7 separate regions of the Homo sapiens genome follow, and regions 1, 2, 3, 4, 5 and 6 are each linked to region 7. The links are contacts of gene promoters, found by promoter capture Hi-C in blood cells and fetal thymus (Javierre and others, 2016). All regions are on one chromosome and are shown on one strand. The core of a region is centred on a gene start or on the middle of the fragment in contact, and the rest is flanking DNA. Distances in the headings are between cores, read along the strand shown.

What was found. Contacts are between HindIII fragments. The CHiCAGO score rates a contact against its expected background, and 5 or more counts as called.
Region 1: the fragment with the promoter of PDIA5 here is called in contact with the fragment with the promoter of WDR5B in region 7 in 1 of 17 cell types (erythroblasts); the score reaches 5.4 in erythroblasts.
Region 2: a contact is called between a fragment that was not itself captured here and the fragment with the promoter of WDR5B in region 7, in 1 of 17 cell types (total B cells). The highest score is 5.4, in total B cells.
Region 3: a fragment that was not itself captured here is called in contact with the fragment with the promoter of WDR5B in region 7 in 4 of 17 cell types (naive CD4 T cells, fetal thymus, total CD4 T cells and 1 more); the score reaches 7.6 in naive CD4 T cells.
Region 4: a fragment that was not itself captured here is called in contact with the fragment with the promoter of WDR5B in region 7 in 2 of 17 cell types (total B cells and naive B cells); the score reaches 6.0 in total B cells.
Region 5: a contact is called between a fragment that was not itself captured here and the fragment with the promoter of WDR5B in region 7, in 1 of 17 cell types (neutrophils). The highest score is 5.3, in neutrophils.
Region 6: a contact is called between a fragment that was not itself captured here and the fragment with the promoter of WDR5B in region 7, in 1 of 17 cell types (naive B cells). The highest score is 5.9, in naive B cells.

What each region holds. Positions count from the first base shown.
Region 1 is chr3:123,065,725-123,068,945 of GRCh38, reverse strand. It overlaps PDIA5 (protein disulfide isomerase family A member 5), which reads right to left and starts at 1,921. Exons shown (of 17, transcript NM_006810.4): 1 at 1,740-1,921. The coding sequence starts at 1,781. RefSeq lists a silencer at 1,627-1,866. The HindIII fragment of the contact is 10,820 bases long and covers 1-3,221 here.
Region 2 is chr3:123,030,372-123,033,450 of GRCh38, reverse strand. No RefSeq gene overlaps it. Among named protein-coding and RNA genes, the nearest start is that of SEMA5B, 4.1 kb to the right of the region's middle. The HindIII fragment of the contact is 211 bases long and covers 1,672-1,882 here.
Region 3 is chr3:123,207,664-123,210,969 of GRCh38, reverse strand. It overlaps SEC22A (SEC22 homolog A, vesicle trafficking protein), which reads right to left. Exons shown (of 7, transcript NM_012430.5): 2 at 1,571-1,771. The coding sequence starts at 1,752. Among named protein-coding and RNA genes, the nearest start is that of SEC22A, 7.4 kb to the right of the region's middle. The HindIII fragment of the contact is 3,274 bases long and covers 402-3,306 here.
Region 4 is chr3:121,809,893-121,813,031 of GRCh38, reverse strand. The region is part of intron 5 of IQCB1 (IQ motif containing B1); the gene reads left to right. Among named protein-coding and RNA genes, the nearest start is that of IQCB1, 24 kb to the left of the region's middle. The HindIII fragment of the contact is 1,387 bases long and covers 971-2,357 here.
Region 5 is chr3:121,713,903-121,716,910 of GRCh38, reverse strand. It overlaps GOLGB1 (golgin B1), which reads left to right. Exons shown (of 22, transcript NM_001366282.2): 9 at 1-174; 10 at 1,935-2,050. Among named protein-coding and RNA genes, the nearest start is that of GOLGB1, 34 kb to the left of the region's middle. The HindIII fragment of the contact is 3,286 bases long and covers 116-3,008 here.
Region 6 is chr3:121,793,207-121,796,533 of GRCh38, reverse strand. IQCB1 (IQ motif containing B1) reads left to right here. Exons shown (of 15, transcript NM_001023570.4): 10 at 968-1,077. Among named protein-coding and RNA genes, the nearest start is that of IQCB1, 40 kb to the left of the region's middle. RefSeq lists an enhancer at 1,528-1,577. The HindIII fragment of the contact is 655 bases long and covers 1,042-1,696 here.
Region 7 is chr3:122,414,177-122,417,499 of GRCh38, reverse strand. It overlaps WDR5B (WD repeat domain 5B), which reads left to right and starts at 1,438. Exons shown (of 1, transcript NM_019069.4): 1 at 1,438-3,323. The coding sequence starts at 1,972. The coding sequence ends at 2,964. WDR5B-DT (WDR5B divergent transcript) reads right to left here and starts at 1,294. Exons shown (of 3, transcript NR_125405.1): 1 at 1,250-1,294. RefSeq lists enhancers at 1-640, 744-943, 1,104-1,153, 1,184-1,423, 641-1,458 and 1 more. The HindIII fragment of the contact is 1,055 bases long and covers 790-1,844 here.

The DNA.
Region 1 (3,221 bases), core at 672-3,171, 650 kb before region 7:
TCTTTCAGACTCTGTTCAACCCTACCACCTCAGGAAAGCCATGGCTGACCTCCCTTTAAATCAACGTATGGCTCCGGTTCAGTGAAGGATACTAGTACTTAAGGTCACAGCACTTGCAGTTCTGTCATTATTTGCTCACAGGACTGACTCCTTTGCCCAATCCAGGGCAACACCAGACGGCAGGTACAATGTGTGTTTTGCTCTCCGCCCAAAATCTAACCCAGTGGAGGGCAAAATATCAATCCAAACAATGTGATTGACAAATAAATGTCTGCCGAATGAAATTTCAGATTCTCAAGCCGTTTGTTTTCACAAAAGGGAGGGGAAAGGGAGGAAAGCAGGACCTCCTACTCAGCCCAAGTGCAAAGACCGATGGGGGGCGTTTCAGGAGATAGCTCCCTCCTCCTGGCCCAGAGACCCGCCCAGACCAACTGGCTCCAGGGAACTGATGGCAAACCAGCATTCAACAAACCCAGACGCAATTAAGTGACACTGCCCCACTCCAGCCTGGTTCTCCCCAAGAGGGAGAACACAGACCGAAGAGAACAGGGGGCTTCTTTCCCCACCCACTTCCAACCAGAGAGTACCAGGCCACTCCTCACTGGTGATCCAAAAGGCCAGGGTATTGGGAGATGGAAGTGTTTCAAGCAACTCAACCCACACTTTTCTCCTCCCATTTGCCCAGTGTCCTTGCCACACCCAAATGGAAAAGAACGGGAAAATCTGGGTTGGGGGGAGGGTGCCAGGAACAGGAAGTTCCCTGGAACTTCAGGGGAAAAGGACCAGGATGGTCCTAAAATAAGGGAGCGCATAAGTTATGGAAAAGATGGGGAAGGAGGCCACAATATCTCATCACACACCCACAGCGAAACGAAGGCCAAACCCCAGACCTGGGCCGGCAGGCACACCCATTCCGACCTCTCTCAGGGATGCCTGGAGTCCCCCCCACCAAGTGTAGCAAACTACTCTTGGAGTCCACTCCTTTTCCACTTTTGTAAGATTTTGCAGTTTACACAGCTTCCTCCACTGAGACCTCATCCGACTCTCAGAACCACCCTATGGGGGTAGCTTTGCCTTTCTATATCATGCATGAGGAAACTAGCTCAGATACATTAAATGAACCGCCGCGTCACACAGCTAGAAAGTGGCTGAGGCTCGAGCCCGCCTCAGTTGGGTGTAGGAGCAGCTCCTCCGCCGGGGCGGGCTACGTCGACCCCACCCAGCCCACCGAGCCTGGCCTGTGGGCGGAGGCCCAGGTGGTGGCCCGCAGTTTCCCAGACGCCTGGGGCCGAAGCCAAGAACAAGGTGGCCCTAAACCAAGGTTTCCGGCAGTGCAGGTAGTAAGCACCCCCATCCCACCCCGCACTCACACAGGTGCAGGGCTCGGAGTCTGGAGCGGAGCTCACCCCGCAGCCCGCCGGCGTCCTGCCCGACCGGCTGTGCCCCGACCTGCATCCCCGCAAAGTTGTGGCCGTGGCGTAAGCACCCTGCCAGGGATCTCCCGGCGCCCCACAGCTGCCTCCTGCCCCTGCGTCCGGGAGCGCTTGGCGGCGAGGGCACCGGGACGCCCGCTGTCTCCCGCGTAGCACCCAGTGCCCGCCTGCCTGGCATGCACGCCCTCATCCCGGTGCCCCGGGGCAGCTCCCCGCACGTTCCGCAGAGGGCTGGAGCAGAGAGCGCAGAAGGGCACGCGGGACACACGTGCTGGCCCGGCCCGGATCCCTGCCCCACAGTCTCACCCAGATTGCCAGCAGCAGCCACGCCGGCCCGGCCCGCGCCATCCCAGCAGCGCTGCCCACCGCTGGCTCCTTTCTCCACTCCGGCGCCCGCTCCCGCCCGCCCGCCTGCTAGCTCCACCGCGGCCAACCACCACGGCCACTTCCCAGCCGCTCCCCGCCTCCGAGTTCCCGGTGCCACGTCTGCCAAAGCATGCGCAGCAGCTGGGGAGAGGCGGCCGGGAAGAAGTGCTCGCTGGGAGTTGTAGTCTGCAGCCTGGCTCAGCTGGGGGCTGCGGGTGCGGACTGGGCTCCGAGGCCACGTGGCAGCGAGTGAAGTGCGAAAAGGCAAGGTCAGGGAGTAAGGGAAGGCAATTAATGAGCGGGGGCTTACTCTGTGCCTGGAGCTTCAGAAACAGTATCTCACGCAGCTCACAGAAATTAGGTTTTATTTTCTCCACTTTGAGGATTAGGAGGCAGCGCAGGGAATTTAAGTACGTTGATCCAGATCACACAGCCGGTAAATGGCAGAGTCCAGGGCTGCCTGTGAAGGACAGGAAAAGCCCTCATCCCTGCCTCCCAGACTCCCTCCTGCTTATTCTATTTAACTTCAGTAAAACATTATTGAGCTGTTGGAAAACAATCTGGTGGTTCCTCAAAAAGTTAAACATAGATTACTATATGACCAGCAATTCCACCCTTAGGCTAATACCCAAAAGAATTGAAAACAGGTATTCAGACAAATGCACGTACACCAGTGTTCACAGCAACACTATTTACAATAACCAAAAGGTAGAAACAACTCTAACGTCTGTCAAAGGATGAATGGGTAAACAAAGTGTGATACATCCATCTAATGGAATGTTATTTAGCCATTAAAAGGAATAAAGTGGCCCAGCAGGGCAGCTCATGACTGTAATCCCAACACTTTGGAAAGCTGAGGCAGCAGAATCGTGTAAGACTAGGAGTTTGAAACCAGCCTGGGCAACATAGCAAGACCTCATCTCTGCTAAAAATAAAAATAAAATAAAATAAAATAGCTGGTGTGGTGGCAAGGGACTGTAGTTCCAACTACTTGGGAGGCTAAGGCGGGAGGATTGCTTGAACCTGGGATATGGAGACTGCAGTGAGCCAAGATCATGCCACTGCACCCCAGCCTAGGCCACAGGGTGAGACCCTGTCTCAAAAAAAAAAAAAAAAAAAAAGGTGGGGGGGAGAGAATAAAATGCTAATACATTCTACAATGAATGAATCTCAGAAATGTATGCTAATGAAAGAAGCCAGACACAAAAAGTCACATATGATGTGATTACATCTTATGAAATATTTAGAATAGGTAAATCCACAGAGACAGAAAGCATAGTAGTGGGGGTGGGGAGGAAGGAATGGGGAATGACTGCTTAATGAGTATAGGGACTCCTTTGGGAGTGATAAAACATTTTGGAACTAGATGGAGATGATGGTTCCACAACATTGTGAAGGTACTAAATGCCACTAAACTGTACA
Region 2 (3,079 bases), core at 528-3,027, 620 kb before region 7:
CCTTATGTTCTTCCTTGGGTCTAAACATCCGAAGAGTTGCCACTGTCTTCCTTGCCTGGAGTTGAGCCCTTGGACTTGACCCTTTATCCTGCTCATCTGCCAGGAAGCCTGGTGTCATCCCTGAACCAGCCATGCCTCTGATCTTCACAACCCATACCTCACTTCCTCTTGATTTATCCTCAGCCCAAATCTGACAGTCTGTGCCAGCTGAGCAGGAAAGAGGAAAGCAGAGAGGTGCTTATGAGTGCTCAGGAAGAGAGATGTGATTACCCCTGGGTGTCAGCCCGAGGCCAAGCTACAAAGCCTGCCTTCCCAATCTCTCACCACACCCTTGACTTAGGACTGTATGAAGAAAAACTAGAAATGTAACACAGGGAACAAAAATGGTTCCAGAAAAATTGCGTGTATGTGGGATTGATGAACACTTTTTGTGGGTTTCAGAGCTAATTCTCCCCTCTGTTGTGATTTGGAATGCTGCAGGTGGTTAACTGGGTTGAAAAACAATTAGCATGTTTTACTATAATATACATTTTCTATTAAAGAGTTTTTAAGTGCTAATATAAATATTAACTAATAAGCAATTGGAGAAAAAAATTTATATGGAAAAATCTCAGTTCAAGCCTAGCTCTGAAAATTACCAATTGCATCCCTGATTCCTATCTGTAAAATGAGGATAATAATCATTCATTTATTAAATCATTATTTTGTACCTTTAAAAGAAACCACCAAACAAACAAAAACCAAGCCCTGTTCTGTAAGCTGGGGCTATAGTGATGAACAAAGCAGGCAAGGCCTCTGCTCCTGTGGAATTTATATTCTGGTCAGGGGAGACAGACAATAAATATGTACAATGTCAGATGGTGATAATGACAAGTATTTGTCATTTTTGAAAAGATGGTAATACATCTCTGATGAATTGATATTTGAGCAGAGATTAAAGGAAGTGAGGAAATGACCTATGTGGACATTTGGCAAAAGAGCTTTCCAGGCAGAGAGAGCATCAAGTACAAAGGCCTTGAGGTGAGAGCCTTGGGTGTGTGAGGAATAGCAGAGAGGCTGGGGAAGCCTGAGAGAAGTGAGGATAGGGAGAGCGCTAGCAGATAATGTCAGACAGGCCTTGTGGGGCTGCTAAGGCTTTTTCTCTAGAGAGCTGGGGAGCCATAGAAGGTTTTTGAGCAGAGGAGTGATAGGATCTGAATTAGGACAGCTTCCGTGTGGAGAACAGACTGTAGGTACAAAGGTTAGAAATGGCAGAGCAAACATCCAGGGGAGAGAAGAGAGTGGTTTGAACTAGGGCACAAGTAGAAGAGGTGGGGAGAAATGGTAAGATTCTGAAAATATTTCAAAGATAGAGACGACAGGATTTATGGATGGTCTGAATGGAGGGTATGAAATGACTTCAAGCTTTTGACCTTGAGGAACTGGAAGAATGGAGTTTTTACTTACTAGGATGGGGAAGACTGAGGGAGGAGCTGGCTTGGAAAAACAAATCAGAAGTTAAGTGTTGGGTATGTTAAGATAGAGATGTCTCTTAGATGGTCATGCAGAGGAGGGGCAGGCAGTTGGTTCTATACATCCAGATTTTAAGAGAGAGCGAGAGGGCCGGAGCTGCAGATACAAACTTGGGCATCATCCGCACAGAGAGGTTTACAGCCAGTGACTGGACAAGCTTATCTAGGTCTTCAGTGTAGCTGTCTCCCTCACATGGCTGTGAAGGTCAAAGGGGATAGTATATGGCAAATAGTTTTGTAAACTGTAAAGTGCTATACACAAGGAAAGGAACAAGTGTGCAAATACGGTAAAGAGCATAATGTAGAGCAGGATTTAAAGAAGTATCTTCAGGTAGAGACAGAATCATAGAATACATGTGCAAGGAGAAGCTTACAAACCAGTGGATCAACCCCTTTCATTTTATCCAGGAGGAGCTAAGGTTGGAGAGATTAAGAGGCTTGTCCAAGGACACTCAGCTCATCAGTGGCCCAGCTCATCCTAGGACTGGGGAGCCCTAACTGCTGGTGCGGTGCTCTTTCCACCACATGAAACACCTGCTCACATTTACTGCTTCAGCTCTCTCTGAATCTGTTAACCAGGGGCAAGTAATTCTTCAAACAGAAATCTAATTATATCGCCTTGTGCTTTTATACATGCTACTTCCTCTGCCTGGAATACTCTGCCTCCTCCTGCTTCTCTGTCTGGCAAATTCCTGCCTTATCTTCCATTCTCAGCTAGAATGGCCATTTCCAATGAAGACTTCTTTGTCCTGTTTGGTAGGATGGTAACTGGCTCTCCATGTGCCCGCAGAGCTCCCATCCTGTGGCAGTCCTTGCATTTGCTATGATTACGTCTGCCTCCCCTGCCTGCCTGTGAAGCTCTTCCTATGACCTCTCTGCCTAGCTTAGTGAGTGACACTTAAATGGGAAGGAAGGAAGGAAGGAAGGAAGATCTCTTCTTTCACATTAGTTCAGGACAATGGCAAAGCAGTCATTCAGTGACACTTCAGTTCCTCTGACCTGAGCAAGGTTTTGGTTCACAAATTGACAATGACTTCTGGGGTGGGAATTTTCTTTTTTCTTTGCCATCCCCAGGCACAATGAGCAGGCAATTCTGGGAGCAGAAAACAATTTGGACATTATACGTGCTGTCTTTTTATTTTCAATTCTCTGTCTCCTATTAGTATATGACTGGCTGTTTGCCTTTTGCTGCAAGACAAGGTTTGTGTTTGTGCCTGGGCTATGCACAAGCATGTGTACACACACACACACACATAGAGGGGAGAGAGAGAGAGAGAGAGAGAGAGAGAGAGAGAGAGAGAGAGAGAGAGAGAGAGATGGCCTCTTGGGAGAGCCTGCACTCATTTTTTAGCTTTATCTCCCAGAAAATGCCCTCAGGTGGGAGGAAGAAGACAGTGTTGTGCTCCTAGCTTTTCCACCCTTTCCTGCTCTTGAGCATGAGAATTTGGATCTATTTCTTAAACTCTTTCAACCTTAGTTCAAGATAAGTTTGGAATTTCTAGGTCAAGAGTGAATCCTAAAAACTCCGTCACCCCCTATATTCACCGCTCTTTAGCTTGTTTGCTTGA
Region 3 (3,306 bases), core at 789-3,288, 790 kb before region 7:
CTCACAACTATCCATAAATCACCATCCACTGACCCAGGATAAGCATGTTAATACACCTACCATGCTAAGTCACATTCTTTGCTTATTCTGCCTCTCCTCCGTACACCTGGAATGCCCTCCTCCCTGCCTTAGCCAACTCTTATTAATTCTTCAGGACATGGCTCATGTCTCATCTCAACAACGAAGCCCTCTGCTTATTATATCCTATATGGACTGTGTTTTTACCTTATTTCCTTCTGTATGCATAATCAATATCCAGCTTGATATCAGACATTAATTGTTCTCTAATTGTTTCACGTCTAAGCTTTCCAAGGTGGTCTCATCCATTCCCATGGTTTTAATCACAAACTGTAAGCTGACTTCCAAATCTAAATGTCTATACTTGTCCTCTTCACTAAGCTTCAGACTCATATATCCAGCTGCTTACCTAGCAGTGCCCCTTGGATGTCTAATGGGCATCTCAGATTTAACATGTCCAAACAGAACTCTTACTTTTTACCAAGGAGACGCACTTATCCTCTCCTTTCTTGCTCATTTCAGCTACATTATTCATCCAGTTCCTCAGGCCAAAAAACTACAGGTGATTATTCTTCTTTTACCTTCACATCCTATTTCAATCCAGTAGGAAGATTTGCTGGTATTAATCCCAAAATATAGCCCCAATCTAACTACTTCTATTCATTACTACCCTAGCTCGTTACAATCAGCACCTCCACCTGAACTTCTCTGAGTCTTCCATCTGACCTCTCTGCTTCCACTTCCTCCTTTATTCTTCACAGTGCAGGCAGAATGATCTACTCTAAGCCAAATGAAATCATGTAACTCTATAGCTTAAAACTACCCAATGGCTTCCTACTGCATTAGACTAAACAGACTAATAGACTCCAAACTCACTACATAACTTGCCCCATTCCTACCTTTCTGGCCTCACTTTCTGCAACTCTATTAATTGTCCATAATTCTTCAGGATCACTGGTTTTCTTTCTGTCTCTTGGCATGTAAAAAAGGGCTTCTCCACTGGCTGCTACCTCTGCCTTGCTCTTCATCCACAGCATCCTTCATATAATTACCTCCTCTCTCATCTTTTAGGTCTCTGCTCAAATGTCACCCTCTCAGAGAGTGTCTTGACCACAATAAATAGTCACTCTCTATCCCATTGCCCAGTTTTACTTGATTTGTATGTGACTCAGTGATAAGTGCTACCCCCTCCCACTAGACGTAAGTTGCTTCAGTTCTTTGAGGGCAGATATCAGGTAAAAAATTTTTATTTCCAATTATAGTTTGCTTACTACAACCCTAGGTATGTAAGAATGCAAATAAATATTTAGTGATCAACTTAAAAGAGGGATATCTATGATCTGCACAACTATAAAATTTCCCAGAGCCAGATACAAAGAAACTACAAAAAGGCTGCTGCTGACATGATGACTATTTAGTATAAGTTCAGAACAATATGATGCTCGACTTGAACAGGTTTTCCTAATCACTCCTTTCTATTGCAACCACTTAAACTTCATTAAAATGACAACTACTGGGCAAATGAGTCAAATGAAGCAAACTGAAGTCTTACTTAATGTTATAATGTCCAGTTTTCAGTGTACATCTATCAGGAAGTTGAGCAAGTTTCCTCGAAAGCATTTTAAAATACTTTCTGCACTCCTGCATTCCTGTGCTTTGTTCATAATCAGTAGAAGCAGAAAGTGGCAGTCCATCTCTGACACGAATGACTGAGGCAGATAAAATCATAGACATTTCAACCAACAGAGAAGACCTAAAACAAAATGAACAATTTGGGTTACATAAAAATTAAAGCCAAACTTGATAAGCATATGTAAAAATGTTCAACTTACTAGTAATATAAGAATAGTAATTAAAATGGCCAGGTGTGGTGGCTCACACCTGTAATCCCAGCACTTTGGGTGGCTGAGGAGGGTGGATCACAAGATCAGGAGTTTGAGACCAGCCTGGCCAACATGATGAAACCCCTTCTCTACTAAAAATACAAAAATTAGCCAGGCGTGGTGGTGCACACCTGTAATCCCAGCTACTCAGGAGGCCGAGGCAGGAGAATTGCTTGAACCCGGGAGGCAGAGGTTGCAGTGAGCCGAAATCGCGTCACTGAGCTCCAGCCTGGGCGACAGAGTGAGACTCCGTCTCAGGAGGAAAAAAAAAACAAAAAACTAATTAAAACAACATACTATGCTTCACTTAACATATAGCTTTTGTTTTTTGTTTTTTGTTTTTTTTTTTGAGACAGCATCTTGCTCTGTCACCCAGGCTGGAGTGCAGTGGCGCCATCTTGGCTGACTGCAACATCCCCCATCCAGGGTTCAAGCAATTCTCATGCCTCAGCCTGGGTTCCCATGCCACAGCATAGGATGTGGCTGGGACTATAGGCGCCTGCCACAGTGCTGGGATTACAGGCATGAGCCACCACACCCAGCCACATTAGCTTTTTAAAAAATAATACTTCTGTCTGGCATTCTCATAAGTACAGATGGAAGTAAAAACTGGTACAAACAGTTCTCAAAATGATTTGGCAATTTCAACAAGAGTCTGAAGGCATACCTTTTAACCTCAATAAATTTAAATATATACCTGTCTTGAGAAAAATAATCAGAAATCCAGGCAAAATTTTAAACAGAAAGACATTCTTCCACTCAAATAACTGAAAGCAATCTAAATATCCTATAAAATGGTGATGGTTAAGTAAATTATAGTATATTCATATAACAGAATATAATGCAGCAACTAAAAGTTATGTTTGTGGAGAAAGTTTAATAATGTGGTAAAATGCTTACATGTTAAGGAGAAAAAAGTAGGATAAAAATTGCAAATGTTGTTTTACACAAACATAAGGATAAAGAGACGAAGATAAAGAGAAGGAAAAAGGGATTGAAAAACGGATGCAGAAAAAGATGCCAAATTAAGAATATGCTCACCTCTAAGAAATGGTATTATTGGTTATTATTATTTTATAATTTCCTAAATGTTCTCAATATTCACAGTAGACATATACTACTTTTATAATCAGAAAAAAATTATTTAAAATAAATCCTAAAGCTAAAGGAATATTGGTTTTAATGTTGTTCTCAATCTTTTTACCAGAAAGTAAATCTTAATGGCCTATTTTATTGGATTCTCTTCTTGCTTTACAAAAACAGATGAAAGGACTTCACAGGCCTGAGTCTGAAGGAACTCAGGTCAACAGTCACTCAACCTTTCATAAAATACACAGTGGCTCTCAAACTTTAGCTTGCATAAGAAGTTGAAAGTTTAGTTAAAAATGCAGATTTCTGAGCTCTG
Region 4 (3,139 bases), core at 415-2,914, 600 kb after region 7:
AACCTGACCTTTCTCTCTGGCTGCCCCTAAGATTTTTTTCCTTCATTTCAACCTTGGAGAATCTGACAATTAAGTGTGTTGGGGTTACTATTCTCGAGGAGTATCTTAGTGGTATTCTCTGTATTTCTTGAATTTGAATGTTGGCTTGTCTTGCTAGGTTGGGGATGTTCTCCTGGATAATATCCTGAAGTGTTTTCCAACTTGGTTCCATTCTCCCCATCACCTTCAGGTACACCAAGCAATCGTATGTTTGTCTTTTCACATAGTTCCATATTCCTTGGAGGCTTTGTTCATTTCTTTTCATTCTTCTTTCTCTAATCTTGTCTTCACACTTTATTTCATTAAGTTGATCTTCATTCTCTTATATCCTTCCTTCTGCTAGATCAATTTGGCTATTGATACTTGTGTATGCTTCATGAAGTTCTCATGCTGTGTTTTTCAGCTCCATCAGGTCATTTATGTTCTCCTAAACTGGTTATTCTAGTTAGCAATTTGTCTAACCTTTTTTCAATGTTCTTAGCTTCCTTACACTGGGTTAGAACATGCTCCTTCAGCTCAGAGGAGTTTGTTATTACCCACCTTCCGAAGCCTACTTTTGTTAATTATCAAACTCATTCTCAGTCCAGTTTTTGCCCTTGCTGGGGAGGAATCGCGATCATTTGGTGGAGAAGAGGCGTTCTGGTTTTTGGAATGTTCAGCCTTTTTGTGCTGGTTTTTCCTCATCTTCATGGATTTGTCTACCTTTGATCTTCGATGCTGATGACCTTTGGATGGGGATTTTGTGTGGGTGTCCTTTTTGTTGATGTTGATGTTATTGCTTTCTGTTTGTTAGTTTTCCTTCTAACAGGTCCCTCTTCTGCAGGTCTGCTGGAGTTTGCTGGAGGTCCACTCCAGACCCTGTTTGCCTGGGTATCAGCAGCAGAGGCTGTAGAACAGCAAATATTACTCACACCTCCTTCCTCTGGAAGCTTCGTCTCAGAGTGGCACCTGCCTGATTCCTGCCAGAGCTCTCCTGTTTGGAGGTGTCTCCCAGTCTGGAGGCACAGGGTCAGGGACCCACTTGAGGAGGCATTCTGTTCCTTAGCAGAGCTCTAGCACTAACAAATTCAAATTCAGTATATCAACTGTGCTGGGAGATGCGCCGCTCTCTTCAGCGCTGGCAGGCAGGAACATTTAAGTCTGCTGAAACTGCACCCACAGTCTCCCCTGTCCCCAGGTGCGCTGTCCCAGGGAGATGGGAGTTTTATGTATAAGCCTCTTACTGGGGCTGCTGCCTTTGTTTCAGAGATGACTTGCCCAGTGAGGAGGAATCTAGAGAGGCAGTCTGGCCACAGCTGCCTTGCTGTGCTGCAGTGAGTTCCACCCAGTCCAAACTTCCCAGTGGCTTCCTTAACACTGTGAGGGGAAAACTGCCGACTCAAGCCTCAGTAATGGTGGATGCCCTTCCCACCACCAAGCTCAGTTGTCCCAGGTTGGTCGACTTCAGACTGTTGTGCTGGGAGCGAGAATTTCAAGGCAATGGTTCTTAGCTTGCTGGTCTCCGTGGGAGTGGGACCCGCTGAACAAGACCTCTTGGCTCCTTGGTTTCAGACCCCTTTCCAGGGGAGTGAACAGTCTGTCTTGCTGGGGTTTTAGCCACCACTGAGGTACAAAAAGAAACTCGTGCAGCTAGCTCAGTGTCTGCCCAAACAGCTGACCAGTTTTGTGCTTGAAACCCAGGGCCCTGGTGGTTTAGGCACACAGGGAATCTCCTGGTCTGTGGGTTGCAAAAACCATGGGAAAAACGTAGTATCTGGGCCAGATAGCACAGTCCCTCCCTTCCCTTGGCTAGGGGAGGGAGGTCCCCAGCCCCTTGCACTTCCCAGGTGAGGCAATGCCCCACTCTGCTTCTGCTTGCCATCTGTGGGCTGCGCCCATTGTCTAACCAGTCCCAATGAGATGAACTGGGTACCTCAGTTGGAAATGCAGAATCACTGCCTTCTGCATTGCTATTGCTGAGAGCTTCAGACCAGAGCTGTTCCTCTTCAACCATCTTGCCAGATCCCCCTGGCAGAGAATTTAACTCAGTGGTAGAGCATATGTGTTCCATGTAACAGGTTACAAATTCCATTTCTGATATCTCCACTGGCATTTTGTGGGATGTTAGCACTAAATAAATATTTGCTAGATTTAGTTTAATTCAGGTTAGTTGAAGCCACATAAACTATAGGAATTGTGTTGGATTTGATTTCTTTTGCTGGCTGTGCCACAAACTAACTCTAGGTTCTATAGCAAATCACTGGATTTCACTGTATCTCATTTTCCTCATTTGTAAAATAATTTCTGTCCCATTAATAGCTCAGACCATTATGTAAGCTTTATCTTTTCTTCAAAGCACCTTTATTTAATATTCCTATTTAAGAGCATTAATAATTCTTTTTCCTTATATATTATTAAAATTATGTATTAATATGTTATGTATTTGTATATTACTTTCATTATAAATATACTTATTCAGTTAATTATTTTCATTTATAGAATCCTTAATACTTTTCATAATATTTTTCTGTCCTTTATTATTGTATTTTTATTGAGATAAAGATTCTTTAATGTTATCCAAGAATTAATTGGCTACAGAAAAAGTAAGGCCACTTAACCACAGGGCAAAATTAAAACAGGGGCATAAAAAAGATGTGGCAAAAACTTGAATTAATTTATTAGTCTATTTACCTAGGAGCTTTTCAATCAGATTTTTGTTTTAATTAGATAGTACATAGTTAGTAGATCATATGGTGGGACATACACGTTCTGACCTAAAATACAAAGTGGTTTTGTGTGAGTATATGTGAGAATTTCGATTTAAAGGTAAATTTTGTTAACCTGCCTCAAGAACCATGAATTTGTGGGTGACATTATCTAATGTGCATTTTAAGGAAAGTAGGAAGTCTAAGAGTACAACACTATCTTTTGGGATTGACAACAATGAGAATTACCATGCCCTTTCTGATGTATCTTTAGGTAAAACTCTGGCAAAGGTAGCTTCCTGAACTAAAAGGATAAAAGGATTCTTGCTCTAATGTGACGTTTCTTATGGGTTTTTTTTTTTTCCATTGTTATATTCAAGTCAGCACTTGTCCTAGAATATTCCTAGGATATTAGG
Region 5 (3,008 bases), core at 509-3,008, 700 kb after region 7:
AGCAGAAGCACAAAGCAGAAATGGAAGAGAAGACCTCTCATATTTTGAGTCTTCAAAAGACTGGACAAGAGCTGCAGTCTGCCTGTGATGCTCTAAAGGATCAAAATTCAAAGCTTCTCCAAGATAAGAATGAGCAAGCAGTTCAGTCAGCCCAGACCATTCAGCAACTGGAAGGTCAGTAGCTGATTGCTTTTGAAGTCCACATCTCTACCATCTGAGTGGCTTGTATTTCATATTTTCAGGGATCTGTTAATGAAATCTGTACTCAAACCAATTGAACCAATAGAAGGACTGAGAAAAACAGCTCTTCTGAACTTCTTGATGCATTTTTCTTGCCTCTGACTGGCTATAATCTTTCTTAATATTATAATTATCATTACAATACTAAAAATGTGATAGTGATGTTCCAGATATTAAATAGAATGCTATGTTAAATATGACTGATCTGAAGGATTCAATGACTGAAACGAGAAGGATTTGAATTAGTTTTTGGAAAACTCAGGCCAGATCTAGGTGCATAGGTTAGGAGACTAAATTGCATGGAGTTATCCATAAATCTGAAGAAGGATGGATCTCAGTGCTTTTCTTATAGGTGAAAATCTCTTTTCACCTGATTTCTTGTCTTACAGGTGAAAATTTATCCTTTATGAAGGTATAAAGGAAACTTTTAAAAAATGTGTTATTATAAAAGTAATATGTGCCTATAAAAAATTGAACATTTTAGAACTTTATAAATTAAAAAGTGAAACTTCCTCAACACCAATACTCCATCTCACCAATCCTCTTCCCCAAATTATAACCTTTACTAATATATTGACATAGACATAAAGGAAAGATTTTAGAAACAATTAAGTTGAAAATTTGTATTGAATAACTGAATGTTAGCCAGACAGTTTTGTTTTTTGTTTTTTTTTTTTTGTGACAGAGTTTCACTCTTGTTGCCCAGGATGGAGTGCAATGGCATGATCTCGGCTCACTGCAACCTCTGCCTCCTGGGTTCAAGTGATTCTCCTGCCTCAGCCTCCCAAGTAGCTTGGATTACAGGCATGCACCACCACACCTGGCTAATTTTGTATTTTTAGTAGAGACAGGGCTTCTCCGTGTTGGTCAGGCTGGTCTCGAACTCCTGACCTCAGGTGATCTGCCCGCCTCGGCATCCCAAAGTGCTGGGATTACAGGCGTGAGCCATTGTGCCCTAGCCAGACAGTTTTGAAGGGCATCACACAAGACCAGGGTGTTACATGAGCAAGCTGTTCTCTTAAGCATGCTGATGTTTAAAACCATGTGGTGGAATCTTGGTGGGATCCATAATACCTAAGTCGAGAGTGAAGAAAACAAAAACCCTAAAGCCATTTTCAAGGGGGAAAGGGAAAATGAACTTGTAAAAAATGCCTAGGGCTAGGCCTCCCCACGCCTGCTATTCCAGCACTTTGGGGAGGTCAAGGTGGGGGGGATTACCTGAGGTCAGGAGTTCGAGACCAGCCTGGCCAACATGGTGAAACTCCATCTCTACTAAAGATACAAAAAAAAAAAAAAAAAAATTAGCCAGGCATGGTGACGCATGCCTGTAATCCTGGCTACTTGGAAGGCTGAGGCAAGAGAATCCTTGAACCCATGAGTCAGAGGTTACAGTGAGCCGAGATCGCACCACTGCACTCCAGCTTAGGCAACAGAGGGAGACTCCGTATCAAAAAAAAAAAAAAAAAGTGCCTAGGCCTATTTTATTTTACTTTTGAAGGAAGTGATTTACTGAGGTGTCCTTTGGTTCTTGAGAACATTTAACATTTAGCTAATAATAATGTTGTCATTGGCATCATAATTTTAACTAAGGAAACTAAACTAGTAAACAGCATACAGTGTATCTTTAGAAGATAATAATAACTACATTTCAGACTTGAAGCAAATATTACATTTATTTTTTTTCTTTTCCTTAGATCAGCTCCAGCAAAAATCCAAAGAAATTAGCCAATTTCTAAATAGACTGCCCTTGCAACAACATGAAACAGCATCTCAGACTTCTTTCCCAGATGTTTATAATGAGGGCACACAGGTAATTAAATGTGAACTTCTTATGAATATTAACTGTTTGTCTTTGCTGTATCTGTACTTCGGTGCTCTAATGAGGATTTATTCCAGAGAGCTATATAAACCTTCTGTTTTTTCTGCCTGAAAAAATACTTTTTTGAGGACAATTCTATTTGAAAGGAATCATGAAAGGCATTAATGCAGTGTTTCAACAATAAAGAATGAGAAAATAATAGATAACAAATACCATGGTCTCAGAAGCCTTTCTGATTCTAAGGTCTTAACAATTTGTATCGGAGATGAATCATTACTTTTGCTTCTGTAGTTAATTTTCCCAGTTCGGAAGTCTTTTTTTTTTTTGGTAAACTAAGATTTGATCAGGTTTAGTGAACACGAGTCAGTCTAATCAAACTTAAAAGTCTACTATGGAAATCATATTGTTCCCATTAATTAATTAACAGTAAAAAAGTATATAATGGCCAAGTAGCTTCTTATTGGCCAGTATATTCTTTCTTTCATCTACAAAAATCTCTGTAGAGAGCTAGATTGTAATCATCGAAGGCTGATTCAGGCTGATTGAGCCTGAATATCAGAATGAAGGCAGTTAGTTTGATGTTCTTAATTGACTAATGTCAAGTTGAGATAACTAGATTCAGTCATCTCCATTGTAAGATTATACCCTTCCAAACTCACAAACATATTGGTCAGCAGAGTCCTGTCATTCCTGGGCTATGCTGTCCACTGATAAAAATTTTTGCCTCTTGGTTTCTAGCATCTAGGCTTTCCAGTCTCTTCTGTTCTCCCATTCTCGACTTTTTCCTCCAATGTTTTGTTAAGACGTTTTCCAACCATTCGAATAAGTTGCAAGAGTTTTGTAGCGAACATCTGTATACCCACCATCTGAATTCTATCATTAACATTTTAGCACGTTTGCTTTATCAAATGTCTATCTATTTATTCATCCCTCTGCCCATCCATCAGTT
Region 6 (3,327 bases), core at 120-2,619, 620 kb after region 7:
CAGCAAGTTATTGATTATTTCATCATACTTCCTCTAGCATACTCAAAATGATGGCTCTAAATAGCCCATTCAACAGGAAGAGGCATATTGCTTTCTGATTTCCAGATAAAGACTTAAATATGGAAAACATCTAAAATGACTAAAGATATTTTTTAATTTAAAAGGAAAAGGGGACATTGTATATCCAAAATCCAAAACCAAAAAGACAATAAATTTAAAAATACAAGCAGAAACCATGAAAATAAGTCCAGTAAGGCAGGAGAATGGGTTGGGGGAGGCTGGAAGGAAGAGTGCAGAAGAAGGGAATTCCTTTTTTCTGTATATATGAACCATCGTGAGTTTAGATTAATCTCAAAACTATGCATATGCTCAAATTCATATTGATTAGGTAACAAAATCATAAAACTATATTTTATTATTAATAGTTGTACCCTTTGCCATTCCATTTGAGGACTCAGAAGTCTATTAAGTAAACAGGAGACTGGGACAGAATTCAGTCAAGAACTCAGACAGCTCACTGACCTTTTAAGCCCAATGGTCTATCAGGAGAATAGCATATCAAAAGCTTACAGAACTAAACAGAGATTCGAGCAACCATCCACAATGGTCAACAGAGCTTATAGTTTGAACCTAACTAGGTTGATTGCCTATTAAGTAAAAACATTAACATGTTAGCTCAAAAAAGATTATGAAAGGTCAGGCGGACTATGAAATCTTTGAAAAGGAAATGGAAGTGAGATTATTCTGGGAGAATTTGGAGCTAACTAGACTATATCTTGAGTATGTTCTAGAAATTGCCTTACCAAGCCTAACATACCTCCTTTGGGAGGTAAGGTTTAATATTCTTACCCATCTTGTTAGAGCTAGAGATTAATATTTGCCCTAACCTGATACTTTAAGAGGTAAACTTTTTTTTTTTTTTAAAGACCTTCCTAGAGATATCTCTAAATTATTTTCGGCATTTCAGAAACTACATCAAGCAGCATGCTTGATTCAAGCCTATTGGAAGGGTTTTCAGACAAGAAAGAGATTAAAGAAGCTTCCATCTGCTGTGATTGCTTTGCAGAGGAGTTTCAGGTAAAAAAATTTGGTGAGGGGATTGATGATCATAGAATCTTACTAGAGTACAGTTGAATTGAAATTTAGGTGATTTTTTTTTAATTTCCTAGTATGTTTCTTGTTATCTTTTCATTTTTTTTCCATACGTTTCTGGGTACCAACACTCCAGTAACCAGATGCACTTTCAAAGCAAAGGATGTAAGACAGGAATCTGATGTGTCAAATATGCAATCCTATCCACTTAATAAGATATTTGGGGAGGGGCCAAGCCTACAAAGGGAGCCAATGATAGTTATATTATTAAACCCTCTAAACCAACAGTTATCATAATTTCGTGTGTATAATTATAACAATAACATGTATGCGTATAAGAGTTTAAGTCTGTTAACCTGATTTTCCTGAATAAATATGGCATGGATGGATATCTTCATTGAATTATGATATAGTTCGGCATTTATTTCAAGTAGACTGAAAAGGAAATACTGAAGACATAGCCCACTTTCTGCAATGACTTAACCAATCCAGATCCTCCAAGGTCACAGAACAAGAAAAAATAACTTAGCTTCTAGGTAATTTATGGTAAAGAAGATCTGTTTCAGAGGTGACTTTTTCATGCAGCCTAACTTAAAGCCAAGCTTTAGTTTGCTAAAATGAAACTGGCATTTTACAGAAGTTAATTCTTTAAAGAAAACTGAAACTATTCTTTTAATAACTGCAGATGCATTTCTCAGTTATAAAAACATTTAAAAATAGCTCTGGGGTTCAAAATACTATGTAGTCACAGAGTTGAAGACATTGAAATCACTCTAGCTAACTGTGTCTCTTAGTGGGTATCCTATTAATTGATGAACGTTTTCTTCAGGGAAGAATTAAAGATGGATTTTAAATATTATTGGGCATGAATATTGTTGGTAGCAAAGAAAAGAATTAATTTTTAAATATATATCAAATGCCTAGTATATGATATATGTACTAGGCATTTAACAGATTCGAGTTTGTATCTCACTTGAGCAGCTTACTGGTTGAGTGAACTTGGACAATCCCCCACCTCTCTCAGCCTCAAACTTCCAATCTATAAAATGAGAATAATAGTTTATACACTTGTATGATCAAGATAATGTAAAATTTGAGATAATACAAAGTTTTTAGCATATTATCTGGCACTTAAAAAATGATAGAAGGAAAAATGCATATGGCACATTTTCTGTCCTTGAAAATTTACAAATCTAGGTAAACAAATAGATGCATTAAATAGGTAGTACTAATGAGAAGCAAGTATTATCCATCTATTATTACTCAAAGTTTATTGCCTATCTTACAAGCTGTTTTTTTTTTAAAAGCATTTCTGTGGTTAGATAAATTTGGGAAATATTGAGTACTTTTTGAGTCACAGTGTATATTTTTCTACCCAAAGCATCTGAGGTGCTCTTGGTATTGCCTCTGTGGTGAATTCAGATAGAGTAGGTATTACTTATGGATTCCACCTGCTATCATCCTTAGTTACCTGTCATCTTAAATTTAAGGGTACCCTTATACATGGATTCAGAGCATTAATGTTTAGTCCCACAAGAGTTCCCAAATTTGCTCATATACTCTCTCTTTCAATATTAAAATCTCTATTTAAAAGTAGCCCAGGATTACAGATTTTTTTCTACTTAGAAGTGTATCTATGGAATCTAATATTCCATTATTTTAAAATAGAAATTCCATTGCTTTCTTTATGTAACCAGAAGAGTTATAAATACTTCCATTAAAAAGATAAGCTGTGAAGCAAAAATTATTTAAGTCTCACATTTTGTGTTTGTTGCCTTTCCAGTATTTTTGCATTTGAGGTTCCAGAATATACTGAAATGCGGTTCTAACCTGTTGGATTCTATTTAATTTTTTAATTTTCAGTTTTCTCCAGTTCAGCACCTTCGCTCTTCTATTAGTTGTAACAGTTCATGCAAATGTCTCTTGCTTCCTTTGTAGCTTGGTTTTTTTTCAAAGGTTATTTCTGTCTTTTTGTGCTCAGGACTTATCTCAGTAATTTCCCCTTCCCATGGTTTTGGGAGAGAGACTGCCCACTGGTCACACTTATGGGTCCAGGTTGATTAGTGTTCTTTAGATTCAGCAAGAGGCATTCTTTTATAGTCACGCCCTTGCTAATGCACTTTCATAGTGGTTTCTTTTTTATTTAGTCATTTCTCGTATTCAGAAACTTTGTCTCTTAAGTACTCTTATTCAGCAAGGTTTTCTGAAGCGGCTAACAGCTGCTCTAGTTATCTT
Region 7 (3,323 bases), core at 189-2,688:
ATACCCATTGTTTCCAAGTGCTTTTAAATTCTTGACGCTGATGAGACATTTGCATCGTGACCAGCCACCAGTAAAATCTTTTAAGCCACGTTTTTTCTGCTTTTCTTGGGCACTCTTTTTTTTTTTTTTTTTGAGACGGAGTCTCACTGTTGCCCAGGCTGGAGTGCACTGGTGGAATCTCAGCTTACTGCACCCTCCACCTCCTGGTTCATGCCATTCTCCCACCTCAGCCTCCTGAGTAGCTGGGACTACAGGCGTGCGCCATCACGCGCAGCTAATTTTTGTATTTTTAGCAGTATTGGTTGCGCCATGTTGGTCAGGCTGGTCTCGGACACCCGACCTAAAGTGTCCCGCCCGACTGGGCCTCCCAAAGTGCTGGGATTACAGGCGTGAGTGCTCGGCCTCGGGCACTCTTTACTGAGCAACAACAGGTTGGAGAAACTAGTAGGGCTTCCAGTTTTTTGGTAAACCTATTGTTTAAAAGTCTGCCTGGTCATCAGATTCCAGTCGTCTTGTTTCTGCCTCAGATGATAAAACTCTAAAATTATAGGATGTGAGATCTGGAAAATGTTTGAAAACACTAAAGGGGCACAGTAATTATGTCTTTCGTTGCAACTTCAATAGCATGTATATTTTACACACTTTCATGACCATTAATCATCTCCTAAAACTGGGGAAAGCTCTCTAAAACCTCCTTAAGAGTAACCTTATCCGTTACCCTATTCCACCAACCTCTTTGTCCTTTTCTGTTTCAAGCAACTTTGAGATACCGACTTCTCTATGGAAGCTTAAGCCGTAGATGCTAAAACAAACGTTTGCTCGTTACTCCCAGCAGAGCACCGGCTTTTAAAGGACCTCAACAGACACGTTTCTTAACCTTTACGAAACTTTTCCAGGGGAAACTTAAACCAGGAATTTTACAATCTGGCATAAATTCTGTCACCCGCCCCGTGACTCCATCGCCACACATGCCACCTGGCTCCACACCACAACAAACAGGAGGGAGCGGAACCCATGCAAAGCAGGAGCTTCCCCCGTTTCCGGCGTCTGGGTGGATCTACGTTAGCTGCCGTTTAGGCAGCTTACGCGTCAGGTGTGGGCCTAAGCCTGCAGCTAAGGTAGGCATCCGCAAATCTAGTCCTTCTCTGTGACAATTTCCAAAAAGAAATGGTTTTTGAAACAACGATCCACTGCTTCCCACACTATCCAGTTAGGTCCGGGACAGACCCTACCCAGCTAATGCACTCACCCAAGAAGGCAGTCGCTTTCGCATTTGAAGGGCGGGGCGAAAAAGACCGGAAATGAACATTGGCGACTTTTTTGCGCAGGCGCAGATGGCCGTCTCCCATTGGTCATCTCGGCTCGGTAGTGGTAGGAGGGACTTCCTTTGCACATGCGCCAGGCTGCTTTTCCGGCTTTGTTGGAGATTGACGCGGCAGTGCACACCTGCTGGTACGAGCAAAAGTAGCCGACAGGCCAGAGTTTCCAGTTTCGGTGGCTTCGTAGGCTTTTAGCTTCTGAAATCCGCTAAAAGCGGCGGTTCATTCATCTTCAAGTACCTAGCCTGACTGGTAGGGCTGCTCAGCATTCCGAAACATTTCGACCTGGGGAGGGGGGCGGCGGTGAAAGAATACTTTCTGTAGAGAGTGCCCCTCGCGTCGCCCCTGCTTTGAAGGCTTTATGTATTAACGGAATGCCGAACATTTGTGTCCTACTTGCTGACAGCGCACAGGATCCTTCTAACAGTATTTCTCAAGTACTTAACAAAAAGATGAAAACTTGAAGTCCAAGCCGTGCTGCTGATTCCGTCTCACAGTTTAAAGACTGTCCAGAAACTTTAAGCTTTCAAAACTGTACATTTTAAAATCCTGTGCGTTTATCTTCATTTTGCTGGGCAGAAAGCCAAAGTACTGGACTGCCTGGTTCAGGGCTGAACGCCTAGTACACCTGCTAACTTGGAGCTTCAGAGCCATGGCAACCAAGGAGTCAAGAGACGCCAAAGCACAGTTGGCCCTCTCCTCATCGGCCAATCAGAGCAAGGAAGTGCCTGAAAACCCAAACTATGCTCTCAAATGTACTCTTGTGGGACACACGGAAGCAGTGTCATCAGTTAAGTTTAGTCCTAATGGAGAATGGCTAGCAAGTTCTTCTGCTGATAGGCTAATCATAATTTGGGGAGCATATGATGGAAAATATGAGAAAACACTCTATGGTCATAATTTGGAAATATCGGATGTTGCCTGGTCATCAGATTCCAGTCGTCTTGTTTCTGCCTCAGATGATAAAACTCTAAAATTATGGGATGTGAGATCTGGAAAATGTTTGAAAACACTGAAGGGGCACAGTAATTATGTCTTTTGTTGTAACTTCAATCCGCCATCCAACCTTATAATCTCGGGATCTTTTGATGAGACTGTAAAAATATGGGAGGTGAAAACAGGAAAGTGTCTCAAGACTTTGTCTGCTCATTCTGACCCAGTTTCTGCTGTTCATTTTAATTGTAGTGGGTCCTTGATAGTGTCAGGTAGCTATGATGGCCTCTGTAGAATCTGGGATGCTGCATCAGGTCAGTGTTTAAAAACGCTCGTTGATGACGATAACCCTCCTGTCTCTTTTGTAAAATTTTCTCCAAATGGTAAATACATTCTCACTGCAACTTTGGACAACACTCTTAAACTATGGGATTATAGCAGAGGCAGGTGCCTGAAAACATACACTGGTCATAAGAATGAGAAATATTGCATATTTGCCAATTTTTCAGTTACTGGTGGAAAGTGGATTGTGTCTGGTTCCGAGGATAACCTGGTTTACATTTGGAACCTTCAGACTAAAGAGATTGTGCAGAAATTACAAGGCCATACAGATGTTGTGATCTCAGCAGCTTGTCATCCTACAGAAAACCTCATCGCATCAGCAGCATTAGAAAATGACAAAACAATTAAACTGTGGATGAGTAACCACTAATCCCTTTGAAAATCAAGTAGTAGAGCCAAGTTGGCCAAAAAACTTGGATATTTAAAAAGACGGTTTCTTTTAATTTTGGCAGTTTGGTATTTTAAAAATTGTCTATTGTTAAATTTTGAGATTCATACACTACATTTACAAAATGAGATAGTTGAAAAAGCACATCTAGAATTCAGCTTCTGACTACCAATCTTTTTTGAGCAACTTTTTGTAATTTTTATGGATTTATGTCACTTTTATTACAGGGATATATTGCATAGTGGTGAAATCTGGGCTTAGTATACCCTCACCCAAATAGTATACATTGTACCTAGTAAATACTTTCCCATCTCTCACCCCACTCCCACCTTTGAAGGCTC